Regions from separate parts of the Homo sapiens genome. Here region 2 is linked to region 1. Evidence: promoter capture Hi-C in 16 types of primary human blood cells and fetal thymus (Javierre and others, 2016). All regions are on one chromosome and are shown on one strand. Each heading gives the region's core, a stretch centred on a gene start or on the middle of the fragment in contact. The rest is flanking DNA. Distances are from core to core; before and after follow the strand shown. Region 1 holds the start of MARK4 (microtubule affinity regulating kinase 4). Region 2 overlaps CLPTM1 (CLPTM1 regulator of GABA type A receptor forward trafficking).

Region 1 (6,802 bases), core at 1,530-4,029:
CAGGCAAGTGACTCCCCACCAGGACTGACAGGCAGGTCTTAGTGACAAGAGTTGGAGGAGAGAAAAGGGGATTAGCCATCCTCAAATCCGCACCATGCACGCATCTTAACAACCCAGGGAACAGCAAGTCTTCATTAGGCGTTCCACTTAACAGACAAGGAAACCAAGGCTCAGAGAGGTAAGGTTACTTGCCCGAGGTCACACAGCTAGGGAGGGACAGAAACAGGATGTGAACCCAAGTTTATCTGAACAATTAAAGTAGTGCTAATAACCACAACAGCCACGACACATGCCAGGCCCTGTGCACCTTAGTCACATCACGTCGCTGGCTCCTGCAAACATCCCTAACAGTGGGGGGCCATCATCAACCCGATTTAGAGATAAGGAAACTGAGGCTGCAAGCTGGGAGTGAATCTGCAGGCTCACTCAACAACCAATAACAGCCCTGAGCTGAGAATCCACGGGCTGTCTGACTCATACCCACAGCCACAATAGCAGCTGGCATTTGTGGAGTGCTTCCTAGGTGCCAGCCTTCGCCTGAATCGAGTAAGCCTTGGAGGCACTCAAGCGGTCACCCCTATTTTCCAGGGCAGGAAACTGAGGCTCAGAAAGGGAGAACTGGTTGTCTGAGGACACAAGGCAAACCAGCTGGCCATGTCAGCATTGGAACCCAGGACTGTGGAGCCCCTGGCACCTCACTGTAGATTGTAGTGACCAAGGAACAGAGGTGGTAGGCATTTCATTAGACTCCAAATTGGAGTTCTGGCCCATAGTGATGATGCGGGGTGGTCTCTGTGAGGGAGGGATCTGCAAGATGAGGAAGGGACAGATATAAATCTCTCTGATGGTGTGTGTGTGTGGGGGGGTCTGTCGGAGGTGAGGGAAACAGGGGGAAGGGGAACAGGGACCTGGCAGAAGGATTTGGAGAAAGCCACAAAGATCCCAGGTGGGGAGAAGTCTAGGATTGGGTGGTGGGCAGGTCTTTGGAAGTGATCAGTGATCAGAGACACAGGAGATGGGGAGGGGCCTCTCTGGGAAGCAGTGTAGGGGCAGGGGGCGCCTGGGAATGGTGGAAAGTGACAAAGCCATGGGGGCAGTGGAAGTCAGAGGCCAGGAATCCCTGGGTCTTGGGGAAGCTCCTAGGAATCAGAGAAGGGGGCTTCTAGGAGAAGTCCTTGAAACCAGAGAAGGGTCTGGGGGGCCTGGAAGTATGGGGTAGGAACTTCTTGGGCAAGGAGCAGCCCAGATGAATAAAGGCTGAGCCCTGGGGAAGGTCAAGGGGTCTAGAAATTTGGGGAGAAAGCTTCCAGCAGATTGACCCAAGGGAAAAGGGCTTGAAACCAGGGCAAGACGAGAGGCTTCAGGTCCAGGAGTTTTCTGGAAGAAGGATCTGGGGCCAGGCCCTGTAGCTGAGGAAGGCCTCTGAAGCTGAGGAGGGGGCTTCCTTGGAAGGCCAGACTCCCAGCAAGGAAGGGGGAGGCCCTGGGGCAGGAGAAAGGACGGTGGTTTGTGGGGAAGGGGTCTGAGTTTGGCCTAGCAGGGGGTCCAGAGGTTGGGGGTTGGGGAAGGGGCTGCCTGAAGCTGAGAAGTTGATAGAGGGCGGATGAGGCCTGGAGTCAGACTGGTCCAGGGCCTAGAAATACCAGCCTGGGTGAGGTGAGGGCCTAGAAGTTGGAGGCCAAGGCTTCCTGGGAGAGGAAGAGACCAGAAAGGGTCCAGGTGGCATCTGGGGGCCCCGGGGTGCTGGGATCTAGGGACAGGGCTGCTTGGAAGATGGGGACCAGGCCTGGGACGGGAGAGACCTTGAAGAAGCCAGAAAAGGGCCGGGGCCCAGGAGAGGTGGAAACCAGCTTCCTGCCAGGGGCTGCCCACAGGCGCCCTGGGTGCGTCCTGGAGGGGCAGAGGGCTGGGAATAAGAGGAGGGGGGCTCCTGGGGAGCCGGCACCCAGCCCCAGACAGGGAAGGCCGGAGCCAGAGGCAGGACTGGGCCAGGCCCTGCTGAGAGTGCCAGGGCCGGGCCTTGGGGGGTCAGGGGCCCTGCAAATCCGGGAGGGGGCGAGGTGTCGGACGCGGACGGCCTGGAGGGGAAACGGCTTAGCACAGGCAAGAGAAGGGAGGGGCTCCTGGAAGCAGGGGAAGGGGCTTCCTGGAGGGAACAGACCCGAGCGGAAGCGGTCTGCACGGGGACAAGAGAGGGGTCCCGAGAGAGGGGCGCCCCCAGGGGTCGGGCTGGGCTGGAAAAGGTGGGGAGGGTGGAGAGGCCTGGAAGTCCGGGAGGGGTCGAGAGGTGACGAGCCGGGTCGGGCCCAGGAAACGAGGGTAGGGGCTCGCGGGGCGAGGGGTACAACGGGGAGAAGGGTTTGGCGGCTGGACCCAGCCAGGGCTCCCCAAGGGGCCGGGCCCCACTCACCGTGTCCGAGTTCCGATCGTTGCCCGGGGCCAGCACCGTCCGCGAAGACATCTTCTCCGGGTCCCGGGGGGCAGGGGCGGCCGGGTGGGGGGGGCGGGGGTCCCAGGGTCCCCTCTCTTCCCCTCCCCCCCCGCCGGCCTGGGGACGCGAGCTCAAAAGCTGGGCGCCGAGAACGCCCGGGTCCGCGCGGCGGGAGAGGGGGCAGGGCGGGGGAGGGGAAGGGACGCCGAGGGTCCTAGTGGCCCCGTGCAGCGGGGACCCCGGGCGCCATGGGGGCGGCGGGCAGGCGGGCGGGCGGGGGCCGCGGAGGGGGCGCGGAGCCGGCCCAAGCGGCGGCGGAGGGAGGCGGTGGAGGGGCTGGGGAGGGAGGAAGGGACGTCAGGGGGAGGGGCGGGCAGGGCGGGGCGCCGGGACCCCGCCCCCCGCCGCCGGCCCTTAAAGGCGCAGGCCCGGGCTGGTCGGGGCGCCGGGGGCTCCGGGGGCTCCGGGGGCGGAGGCGGGTCTGGGCACGCCGGCGGGGAGCGTGTTCTCGCCCGAGACGAGAGGCGCACTGGAGAGGAGAGAAGGGGAGAGAGAGGCCGGGGCAGAGCGCCAGAGACGCAGAGAGAGAGATCGAGAGACGTAGAGATAGAGAGACACGAAGAGAGAGAGACGAGTTACAAAAGGGTGGAGAGGCGCAAGGAGATGAAGGAAGAGCCAGATGACAGAGAGAGAGAGACGCAGGGAGACAGAGACAGAGAGACCCAGAGACGCAGAGGGACAAAGACTGAGAGAGACCCCACACACACACAGGGAGAGACAAAGAGATACAGAGACGCAGAGATCTGTGAAGAGATAGAGATAAAGGGACTGAGCCAGAGAAGACCCCAGAGGCGCTGCCCACATTGTCCCTCCCCCTGGCCCATTCTCTCCCCAGTTGGCGGGGGGGAGCGGGGGAAGCTCTCCCCTCGGAGGCCTAAGGGTGGGGTGGGTGAAGGGGATGGTGTGCGGGGCTTGGCCACTGCTGAGGGCTCAGTGACCTCCCTAGTCAGGCTGCCTCCACTCAGCCACATAGATCCAGACCCGCAGGTTGGGGCTGCAGCATCCACTCCTTTGCACCCCAGCTGGGGTGTGGGGACCCTCTCTGTCCACCTGTATGACCCGGGGCAAGCACTTGCCCTTTCTGGGCTTCACTTTCCCAGTTTGTAAAGTGAAAGGAAGAATCCGTGTGTTGCTCACTGGCAGGTGCGAAGGAACCCTGTGCAGGTATTCGCCTGCAGGGCACAGCCACTCCCCATGCGGGCAGGCTGAGACCAGAGAGGACAAGAGCCTCTCGGAGGCCACACAGCGCTGTGGGGACCATCCATGCTCTGTGGACCAGGGTGGGATGAAAGAAAGACAGGCATTACATAGTCTTGGCCTGGGAGTCACATGGTTTTGGGAAGGGGTCTGTGCCCTGCCTTCTTCTATCTGAGGCTTATTTTCCTGAGCCTCAGTTTCCCCTTCTAAAACAGCAGTGTGCTGGATCTGGCTGGAGCGAGCTGATTGTTATGTCTCAGGAATTTTGGAACTGGTTGTTAAACACAGCCATTATTAAAAATTAAATTATGCAAACATACAATTAAATTACATTAAAGGTACAAGTAATACATACTCATCACGTCCTAGTTATCTTACTACATTTGCCATTATCTGTGATCTTGAGGTTACCTACGTCTATTGTAGCTGCACAGTAAAATTACTATATAATGGGGGGCAAAAATGCCATGTGATATCACCTTGGTAGCTTGAAATTAGCCATGGTGGGAATATTTACACCATGGAAATTGGCAAATGCTACAAATTAAGGCTCCACACCCCCACCTGCAGAGAGCTGGGGGTGTTTTGTTTTGCTTTGCTTTGTTTTGTTTTTGAGACAGGGTCTCACTGCATTACCCAGGCTAGAGTGCAGTGGCACGATTATGGCTCACCGCAGCCTGGACATCCCCGGCTCAAGCAATCCTCCCAGCTCAGCCCCACCAAGTCACTGGGACTACAGGTGTGCACCACCACGCCCAGCTAATTTTTTGTAGCCATATTGCCCAGGCTGATCTCCAACTCTCAGGCTCAGGCGATCCTCCCACTTCGGCCTCCTAAAGTGCTGGGACTACCCTGCACTCAGCCAAAAGCTGGTTGTGAAAGCACAGCACTGCTTGATACTATGAGCAACACAGACTCATGGCAGTTGCCCTTGTGCCAGGCTCTGAGCAGTTTCTCCTTTCTGCCACCCCAAGAGGTAGGGAGCATCTTTATCAATCCCATTTGCAGATGAGGAAACAGAGGCCCAAGGAAGGGAGAAACGTCACACGCTGAAGGTCACACGGCAAATTAGTGGCAGGGCTACAATTTGAATCCAAGTGCTCCCAAGTTCCAGAACTTGGACCCTCTCTCAACCACTGTGGTTTCCTGTCTCCGAAAAATAATAGCAGCAACCTCAGGCTGCTACTATTTTTATTTGTCAATTTGTTTATATTTATTTGTTATTTTAATGTTACTGCTAACAAATAAATGAGAATCTTTGAGTAAAGTGCTTCACAGGGGACCAGATTCAAAATTCATATGTGGGGACATTATTATTACTATTTGGCAAATATGGCCCGAGGAGCCTCAGGGACAGTGGCAGAGAGGGTGGAGTTCCGGGGTAGTGTTCTAGACGTACTGTGATCCCAGGGACGCCGCAGGGTGAAAGTGGGGGTCTTGGGGGTAGGCTAGAGGGGCTGAGCGCCCCCAACCCGTTCCCTGCATTGGCGCTGAGAGCTGCAGTTCTACCGTGCACCACACGGGGGCAGCCGATCACCTCCCTACACGCGCCCCACACACTCCAGGGTCCACCCCTGCCCTCCCTTCCCCAACAGCGTCCCCACCCCATTTCCCAGATGTGGGGGGACCGAGGCTTACAGAGAGGGAGGCTGCAAAGTGGATGAACCTTGAAAACAGCATGTGGCCGGGCGCGGTGGCTCACGCCTGTAATCCCAGCACTTTGGGAGGCCGAGGCGGGCGGATCACGAGGTCAGGAGATCGAGACCACGGTGAAACCCCGTCTCTACTAAAAATACAAAAAATTAGCCGGGCGCGGTGGCGGGCGCCTGTAGTCCCAGCTACTCAGGAGGCTGAGGCAGGAGAATGGCGTGAACCCGGGAAGCGGAGCTGGCAGTGAGCTGAGATCGCGCCACTGCACTCCAGCCTGGGCGGCAGAGTGAGAATCCGTCTCAAAAAAGAAAAAAAGAAAACAGCATGTTTAGCGAAAGAAGTCAGACGCAAAAGACCACTTACTGTATGCTTCCATTCATATGAAATATTCAGAATTGGCAAATCCATAGACAGAAAGTAGATTAATGGTTGCCAGGGGTTGGAGGCTGGGGAATGAGAAATGACTGCTGATGGGTACCAGGTTTCTTTTTGGGGTGATGAGAATGTTCTGGAATTAAATAGTGGTGACGCTTGCTGCAACCTTGTGAATATACTAAAACCTACCGGACTCTGTTTGAAAAGGGTGACTCTTATGTATGTGAATTGTATTTCAATAAAAAATAATAATAAAATTTAAAAAGGGGGCTGGACGCGGTGACTCACACCTGTAATCCCCGTACTTTGGGAGGCCAGAACGGGAGGATCACTTGAGCCCAGGAGTTCGAGACCAGCCTGGGCAACATAGTGAGACCCTGTCTCTAAATCAAAATAAAAAAAATAATTTTTAAAAAGGAGGGGGACGGGCACGGTGGCTCACGCCTGTAATCCCAGCCCTTTGGGAGGCCGAGGCGGGCAGATCACGAGGTCAGGAGATCGAGATCATCCTGGCTAACACAGTGAAAACCTGTCTCTACTAAAAAAAATACAAAAAATTAGCCGGGCGCTTGCAGGTGGCAAGCGCCTGCGTCCCAGCTACTCGGGAGGCTGAGGCAGAAGAATTGCTTGAACCCAGGAGGCGGAGGTTGCAGTGAGCAGAGATCACGCCACTGCACTCCAGCCTGGCGACAGAGCAAGACTCCGTCTCTAAATAAATAAATAAATAAATAAATAAATAAGGCGGGGTGGAAATCCTGCACGATCCCAGTACATGATGGGCCACTGCTGACCATGGGTCCGCGGTGCAGAGGCCGAGCTGGGGGGCAAGGCCTGTTCCTCTGCCTCCCGACCTGGTCATCCAGCTAGCCCTTCCTCCACAACCTATGTCTGGTGAATTCATTCCTTCAACTGGGGCATTCAGACCTTTGAATCTTAACCCTTGGATCCAGGAGGGAGCTGTGATCCCTAAGCCCAGCCCCCGATCCTAATGTTGACCCCAACCCTGATCCCAGCCTGGACTTTGCCTAGGCCAGTGATCACGCATCCCCCTCAGGCTGTGCCTGAGCACTTGAACACAGTTTATCTTAT
Region 2 (6,802 bases), core at 1,181-3,680, 280 kb after region 1:
ACTTTTGAAATATAACATCCAAAGACCCTGATTTAACCTATTTTAACCAAATGAATTTGCTTTTTCTTTTGGGTGACACAGGTTTTATGTGCTGGGGATGGACCCAGGTGACAGAGGTCTCACGTGTTGGGGATGGGCCCAGAGTTCCTCAACCCTGGACCTGTTTTCCTAGACCTGCCAGTGAGCAAGGACCTGGTCTGTCCCGACTGCTGACATCACTCCTCCACATTCCACCCCTCCACACCCCATCACCTCCCAAGTCTGCCCTACCACCCGGCAGTTACCATTAAAGTGTCTTTGGGGAACAGGTTGCGGCTGGCGACGCGTGGAGCTCCTCCGGGGCCCGCCTGGTCCTGAGGGGCCGGCCCTCGGCGGAACCAACTGCTGATGGCCCAGATGATGAAGATCCTGAGGAGAGAAGCAGCAAGGTGGTGAGTCCCCAAGCCTTGGCTCTCCGCCATAGACCCGCCTGACTTCCTTCTGACTTAGCACATGCTGGCGCCTGACCTGGGGCTAGTGACCAAGTCAGGGAGGCCCTGAGAAGGTAGTCACAGGGCTGGCAAGGAGATAAGATGTCCCTAAAGACCACATCTGGGGAGGGAGCCCAGATGCCACCGTTTGCCAGTGTGTGGGGGTAGCTGGCACTGCCCTGGTCTGCATGCAGACCCTTGACTCTAAATCCTGCAGGAGCTCCTGGTGACCACAGGGCTGCAGGGGCTGACTCTTGACTCAGACTGGGAAACCTGCCATCCAGCCCCCTGGGATCCCCCGAGAGGAGACTAAGAATCTGGAACCCCTTCAGTGTGCAGATGGATGAATTAAAAGAAAAAAGAAATAAAGAAAAAATAATAAACATAAAATTTTTAAAAGAAAGAATCTGGAATCCTAGCGCTTCAAAAGCACAGAACCGGGGATGGTTAATGGCTACAAAAAATAGAATGAACGAGGACGGGCGCGGCGGCTCATGCCTGTAATCCCAGCACTTTGGGAGGCCAAGGCGGGCGGATCACGAGGTCAGGAGATTGAGACCATCCTGGCTAACATGGTGAAACCCTGTCTCTACTAAAAAATACAAAAAAATTAGCTGGGCATGGTGGCGGGCGCCTGTAGTCCCAGCTACTCCGGAGGCTGAGGCAGGAGAATGGTGTGAACCCAGGAGGCAGAGGTTGCAGTGAGCCAAGATCGCGCCACTGCACTCCAGCCTGGGCAACAGAGCGAGACTCCATCTCAAAAAAAAAAAGAATGAATGAGATCTAGTATTTGGTAGCAAAACACGGCAACTCTAGTCAATAGTAATTTAATTACACATTTTAAAATAACTTAAGAAGTATAGAGGCCAGGCACAGTGGCTCATGCCTGTAACTTTGGGAGGCTGAAGTGGGCAAATCACGAGGTCAAGAAATCGAGATCATCGTGGCCAACATGGTGAAACCCTGTCTCTACTAAAAATACAAAAATTAACTGGGCCTGGTGGTGCGTGCCTCTAGTCCCATCTACTTGGGAGGCTGAGGCAGGAGAATCACTTGAACCCGGGAGGCGTAGGTTGCAGTGAGCCGAGATTGCGCCACTGCCCTCCAGCCTTGCAACAGAGTGAGACTCCATCTCAAAAAAAAAAAAAAAAAAAAAAGTATAATTGGGTCAGGTGTAGCAGCTCATGCTTGTAATCCCAGCACTTTGGGAAGCTGAGGCAGGCGGATTGCTTGAGCTCAAAAGTTTGAGACCAGCCTGGGCAACATGATGAAATCCCGTCTCTACAAAAAATATAAAAATTAGCTGGGCATGGTGGCCCATGCCTGTAGTCCCAGCTACTTGGGGGACTGAGGTGAGAGAGTCACTTGAGCCCTGACGGTCAAGGCTGCAGTGAGACGTGATTGCGCCACTGCACTCCAGCCTGGGAGATAGAGAGCTTGTCCCAAAAAAATTAATCAATTAATTAATTAAATTTTTTAAAAAAGAAAAGGAAAAGAACCGAAGGCACAGAAGCTTAGAAAGAGCAACATTTCTGAACTTTTGGAGAATTTTTGGAGAAGCAGATAGTAAGTGATACGTTAGTTCCAATTTTAGTAACAGTGGGCTTAATTATTCAGACCAACCCTCTCACTGGAAAAAATTGGAAAAGCTTGATAAAATTAATACACTAAGAAAATATCAATATATTTTATATTTGTAATTATACATATTGATAGAATGAGAATATATGCTGCTCACGTATTCTCGTATTTGTTCTCATGCATGTAATTTTTATCAAGTTTACATATGAATATATATAAATAGACAGCTCTGAAGAATGGACACGACTGTAGGTTACCAAACCTTCAGGCAAAAACTGAAGGGAAAGTGGGAATCCTAAAGTAGTAAAGGATCGGCCGGGCGCGGTGGCTCAAGCCTGTAATCCCAGCACTTTGGGAGGCCGAGGTGGGTGGATCACCTGAGGTCAGGAGTTCAAGACCAGCCTGGCCAACATGGTGAAACCCCATCTCTACTAAAAATACAAAAATTAGCCAGGAGTGGTGGTGCATGCCTGTAATCCCAGCTATTCGGGAAGCTGGGGCAGGAGAATCGCTTGAACCCAGGAGAAGGAGGTTGCAGTGAACCGAGATCGTGCCATGGCACTCCAGCCTGGGCAACAAGAGCAAAAAGTCCATCTCAAGGAAAAAAAAAAAAAGAAGTAAAGGATCTTGGATTTGCAGGTCTAGGGGAAAAAAAAAAAAAGAATAAGTAAAGGAGCCCTATAAGCTTCTTCATGTGTCCGAGGACATCTGCTAGGTGTTTTGGTGGGTGACAAAAATGCTGGCCTAGGCTGGGCGCGGTGGCTCACACCTGTAACCCCAGCACGCTGGGAGGCTGAGGTAGGTGGATTGCTTGAGCCCAGGAGTTTGAGACCAGCCTGGGCAACACACAGTTTCTACAAAAAATACAAAAATTAGCCAGGCATGGCAGCACGCACCATGCCTATATTCCCAGCTACTCAGGAGGCTGAGGTGGGAGAATCACCTGAGCCCAGGAGGTCGAGGCTGCAGTGAACCACGATCATGCCACTGCACTCCAGCCTGGGCAACAGAGTGAGACCCTGTCTCAAAAAAAAAAAAAAAAATGCTAGCCCAGGGCACATACAACATATGAGGTAACCAGAGACCTACCCTATAGGAAACTAAGACCCCACAAGGTGCAAGCCTCCACCCCTGAGAAGGAAGGAACCAGGTGGCCTACCCATTCCCAGGAGTTGCACAACAGGTATGCAGGGCGAAGTATGCAAGGCCACTCGTGGGATAAGGAGTCACGAAGGGCAGCTCAAGCCCTGAACCTGGTGCAAGGAAACCTAGGACTTGGTAATGCCCCCAGGCAGAAGCAAAGGCAATCCTCTCTGTAGGAAAATATGCTCATCCTAGCCCTGAAATTCCTACAAATAACTTTTCAAGTATAATGACTAGGACACAGACAGAGATAAGCCAGGCACAAAAGGAAACGACATTATGAGCGAGAATCAGCAGCAACAACAGATACCAAAACCAAAACGAGGCTGGGCGTGGTGGCTTACACCTATAATCCCAGCACTTTGGGAAGCCAACACTTGAGGTCAGGAGTTCGAGACCAACCTGGCCAACATGGTGAAACCCCATCTCTACTAAAAATACAAAAATTAGCCGGGCGTGGTGGCGGGCGCCTGTAATCCCAGCTACTTGGTAGGCGGAGGCAAAAGAATCGCTTGAACCTGGGAGGTGGAGGTCGCAGTGAGCCGAGATCATGCCACTGGACTCCAGTCTGGGTGACAGAGTAAGACTCCATCTCAAAAAAAAAAAAAAAAAAGTGTCCTTAAAGAGAAGAAATATTCCTTCTTGATTTATTCTTCTCTCCTGTTGCCTGGAGTGTGGATGTGATGGCTGAATCTTCAGCAGCTGTCTTGGGCTATGAGGATAAAGGGAAAAACCTAGCAATGGCACAACAAACAGCAAGGAGTCTGGGTCACTGAAGACTGCAGAATCCTAGTCTGCCTCCATCCAGACTGGTATATCAGAGAGAAATGAACCTGTACTGTGTTAATGGAGGTTTCTCAGCTGCATGCAGCCATGTGATTAAATGATTCAAGTACTTATTAATTATAGGTATGATAACCATACAGCAGAAGAGGTTATGAGCCCAGCCTCTAAACTACAGTATCTTCATCTGAAGCCCAGCTCTGCTACTTACTGTGACCTCAGTGGTCAACTTCAATGGTTGAAATGGGGATAATAACAGTGCCTACTCTCATAGGGTAGTTTATAAGCATTAAACACATTAAATTATATATATGTTTATATAGCGTGTATATACATCTGACACACGCACACGTACCTCAGAATGGAGCCTGGTGCATACCCAGTAAGTGACTGAGAAGTGTTAGCTATTACTGTTATTTTAATCATAGGAAAAAGGCATACAAAAAACTTTGGAGCAGAAAAACACTATGAGTAAATTCTAGTGTGGGTGGGGTGCCTCCCTGCTGAGCCCTGATCAGGGGCAGGATCAGGCACAGGAACTTGCCTCTGCCTGTAGAAGCCACAAGGCCCTGGGGTCCAGGGTCTTAGGGGCCACGGTCCAGCTGAGCCATCGCTACCTCCCCATGAAGTCCCTGATATGCACGTCTGGGGAAGGTCTGGACCTGGCAATCTCTGGGGATACCGATGCCTCCAGCAGAGGCTCTCATTTTAGTAAACACACCAGGGGAGAGTGTAGAAGCAGTGATGCCCCCAGGCAGCTCTGCCCCTGGCTTAGTGTGTGGCTGTGGGGGTCCTAACCCCTCTGGGCTTCTAGATCCCCATGTATAAAACAAGGCCAGGCCTTTTTGGATTCCAGATCCCCAGTCCCCTGAAGAACGTCCTGTGTGTATCCACACGCCCACAGTTCTGTGGACCCTCTCAGAGGGCTCATGGCCATGGCCCCTCATCCATGCACCCAGGCCTGCAGGAGACTGGACCTTTCTAATGCTTCCTGATGTACTTGAGTAAGCAAAGAAAACAGACATTAAATCCTTTCTCCCACCCAAATAGGTATTCTACAGTCACAGGTTCAGAACATTTTTAAATATATGAAAAGACGTATAATCAAAACTCTCCCTCCCACCCCATTCCTTTATATACCCAGTTCCTGCTCCACCTCCCACTCCAGGTAACCACATGTGCTCAAAAACACAGACGCCACCCGCTATCTAGAAAGGCTATTCCCACATAATCAGCTTCAAGCTACAAGGAGTTCATGGGCCCCTGAAAACAAACCCTGGATCCCATTTTAAGAACTGCAGCCAAGATGGTCTCCGAGCACCCACCCGAACTGATGTTTGATGCTGCCTAGTTCTAAGAAAGGAAATTAGCCTACAGTGTGACTTGTATTAAAAATGTCTCTCTGAAGGAAGCTCCCTATGCACTGACGTGGAAAGATTTCAAAGATATATTGTTAATGAAAAAAATCAAGGAGCAGAACAGTGTGTAAAACAGGCTACCTCTTATGTAAAAATGAAGGGAAAGATAAAAATAATTTTCATGCAGAGCTGCTTGCAGCATGAAAAAAAAGAAGGTGATATATAAGAAAATCTGAAGTCTTTACGTGGCCATGGGGAGGGGAGGTGAAGTGGAGACGGTAAGGGACAGGGGCGCATGACTGAGAAGCGTAGGGCACATGGCAGGAATTTTTGAGGCACACATGTCAGTTTTGCAACTTAACAGAGTGGGGAGGTTTCTTTCCTGCAGTTTCTCAGTGTCCTGTGTGACACTCTTGGAGGACACCAGGCAGGCAGTTCTGCTCTAGTCTAGAATGTGATCAGTGACTACATCAGGGATCATGAGTTGTTTTTTTTTTTTTTTGGGACAGAGTTTCACTCTTGTTGCCCAGGCTGGAGTAAAATGGCATGATCTCGGCTCACTGCAACCTCCGCCTCCCGGGTTCAAGCGATTCTCCTGCCTCAGCCTCCTGAATAGCTGGGATTACAGGCATAAGCCGCCATGCCCGGCTAATTTTGTATTTTTTGCAGAGATGGGTTTCTCCATGTTGGTCAGGCTGGTCTGGAACTCCCGACCTCAGGTGATTCACCTACCTTGGTCTCCCAAAGTGCTGGGATTACAGGCGTGAGCCACTGCACCCGGCCTCATGAACTTTTTTTTTTCACTGTTTCACTATATATTTCCTAAGGTTTTTGTTTGTTTGAGATACAGTCTCACTCTGTTGCCTAGGCTGGAGTGCAGTAGTATCATCACGGCCCATTGCAGCCTTGACCTCCTGGGCTCAAGCGATCCTCCCTCTTCGGCCTCCCTAATAGCTGGCACTACAGGTGTGCGCCATCACACCCAGCTAATTTTTTAGTTTTTTACAGAGATGGGGTCAGGATAGGCGCGGTGGCTCACGCCTGTAATCCCAGCACTTTGGGAGCCCGAGGTGCGTGGATAGCGAGGTCAGGAGATCGAGACTATCCTGGCTAACACGATGAAACCCTGTCTCTACTAAAAATACAAAAAATTAGCCGGGCGCTGTGGCGGGCGCCTGTAGTCCCAGCTACTCGGGAGGCTGAGGCAGGAGAATGGCGTGAACCTAGGAGGCGGAGCTTGCAGTGAGCCGAGATCGCGCCACTGCACTCCAGCCTGGGCGACGGAGCGAGATTCTGTCTCCCAAAAAAAAGAGAGAGAGAGAGAGAGATGGGGGTCTTACTGTGTTGCTCAGGCTTTTTTTTTTTCCACGTTGAACAACAAAAGGAATCATGGCCAACATTGTCTGTGTGCGTGCCAGCTCCTGCACCCCTCAGTTGACATGAATTCTCTTGGAATCCTTCTGATGC

The links. The method cuts DNA at HindIII sites, captures the fragments that hold promoters and counts their contacts. A CHiCAGO score of 5 or more calls a contact.
Region 2: a fragment that was not itself captured here is called in contact with the fragment with the promoter of MARK4 in region 1 in 1 of 17 cell types (M0 macrophages); the score reaches 6.6 in M0 macrophages.

What each region holds. Positions count from the first base shown.
Region 1 is chr19:45,247,248-45,254,049 of GRCh38, reverse strand. MARK4 (microtubule affinity regulating kinase 4) reads right to left here and starts at 2,779. Exons shown (of 17, transcript NM_001199867.2): 1 at 2,411-2,779. The coding sequence starts at 2,461. RefSeq lists an enhancer at 1,315-1,871 and silencers at 2,345-2,494, 2,725-3,104. The HindIII fragment of the contact is 10,557 bases long and covers 1,306-6,802 here.
Region 2 is chr19:44,966,693-44,973,494 of GRCh38, reverse strand. It overlaps CLPTM1 (CLPTM1 regulator of GABA type A receptor forward trafficking), which reads right to left. Exons shown (of 14, transcript NM_001294.4): 3 at 285-408. Among named protein-coding and RNA genes, the nearest start is that of CLPTM1, 15 kb to the right of the region's middle. The HindIII fragment of the contact is 617 bases long and covers 2,122-2,738 here.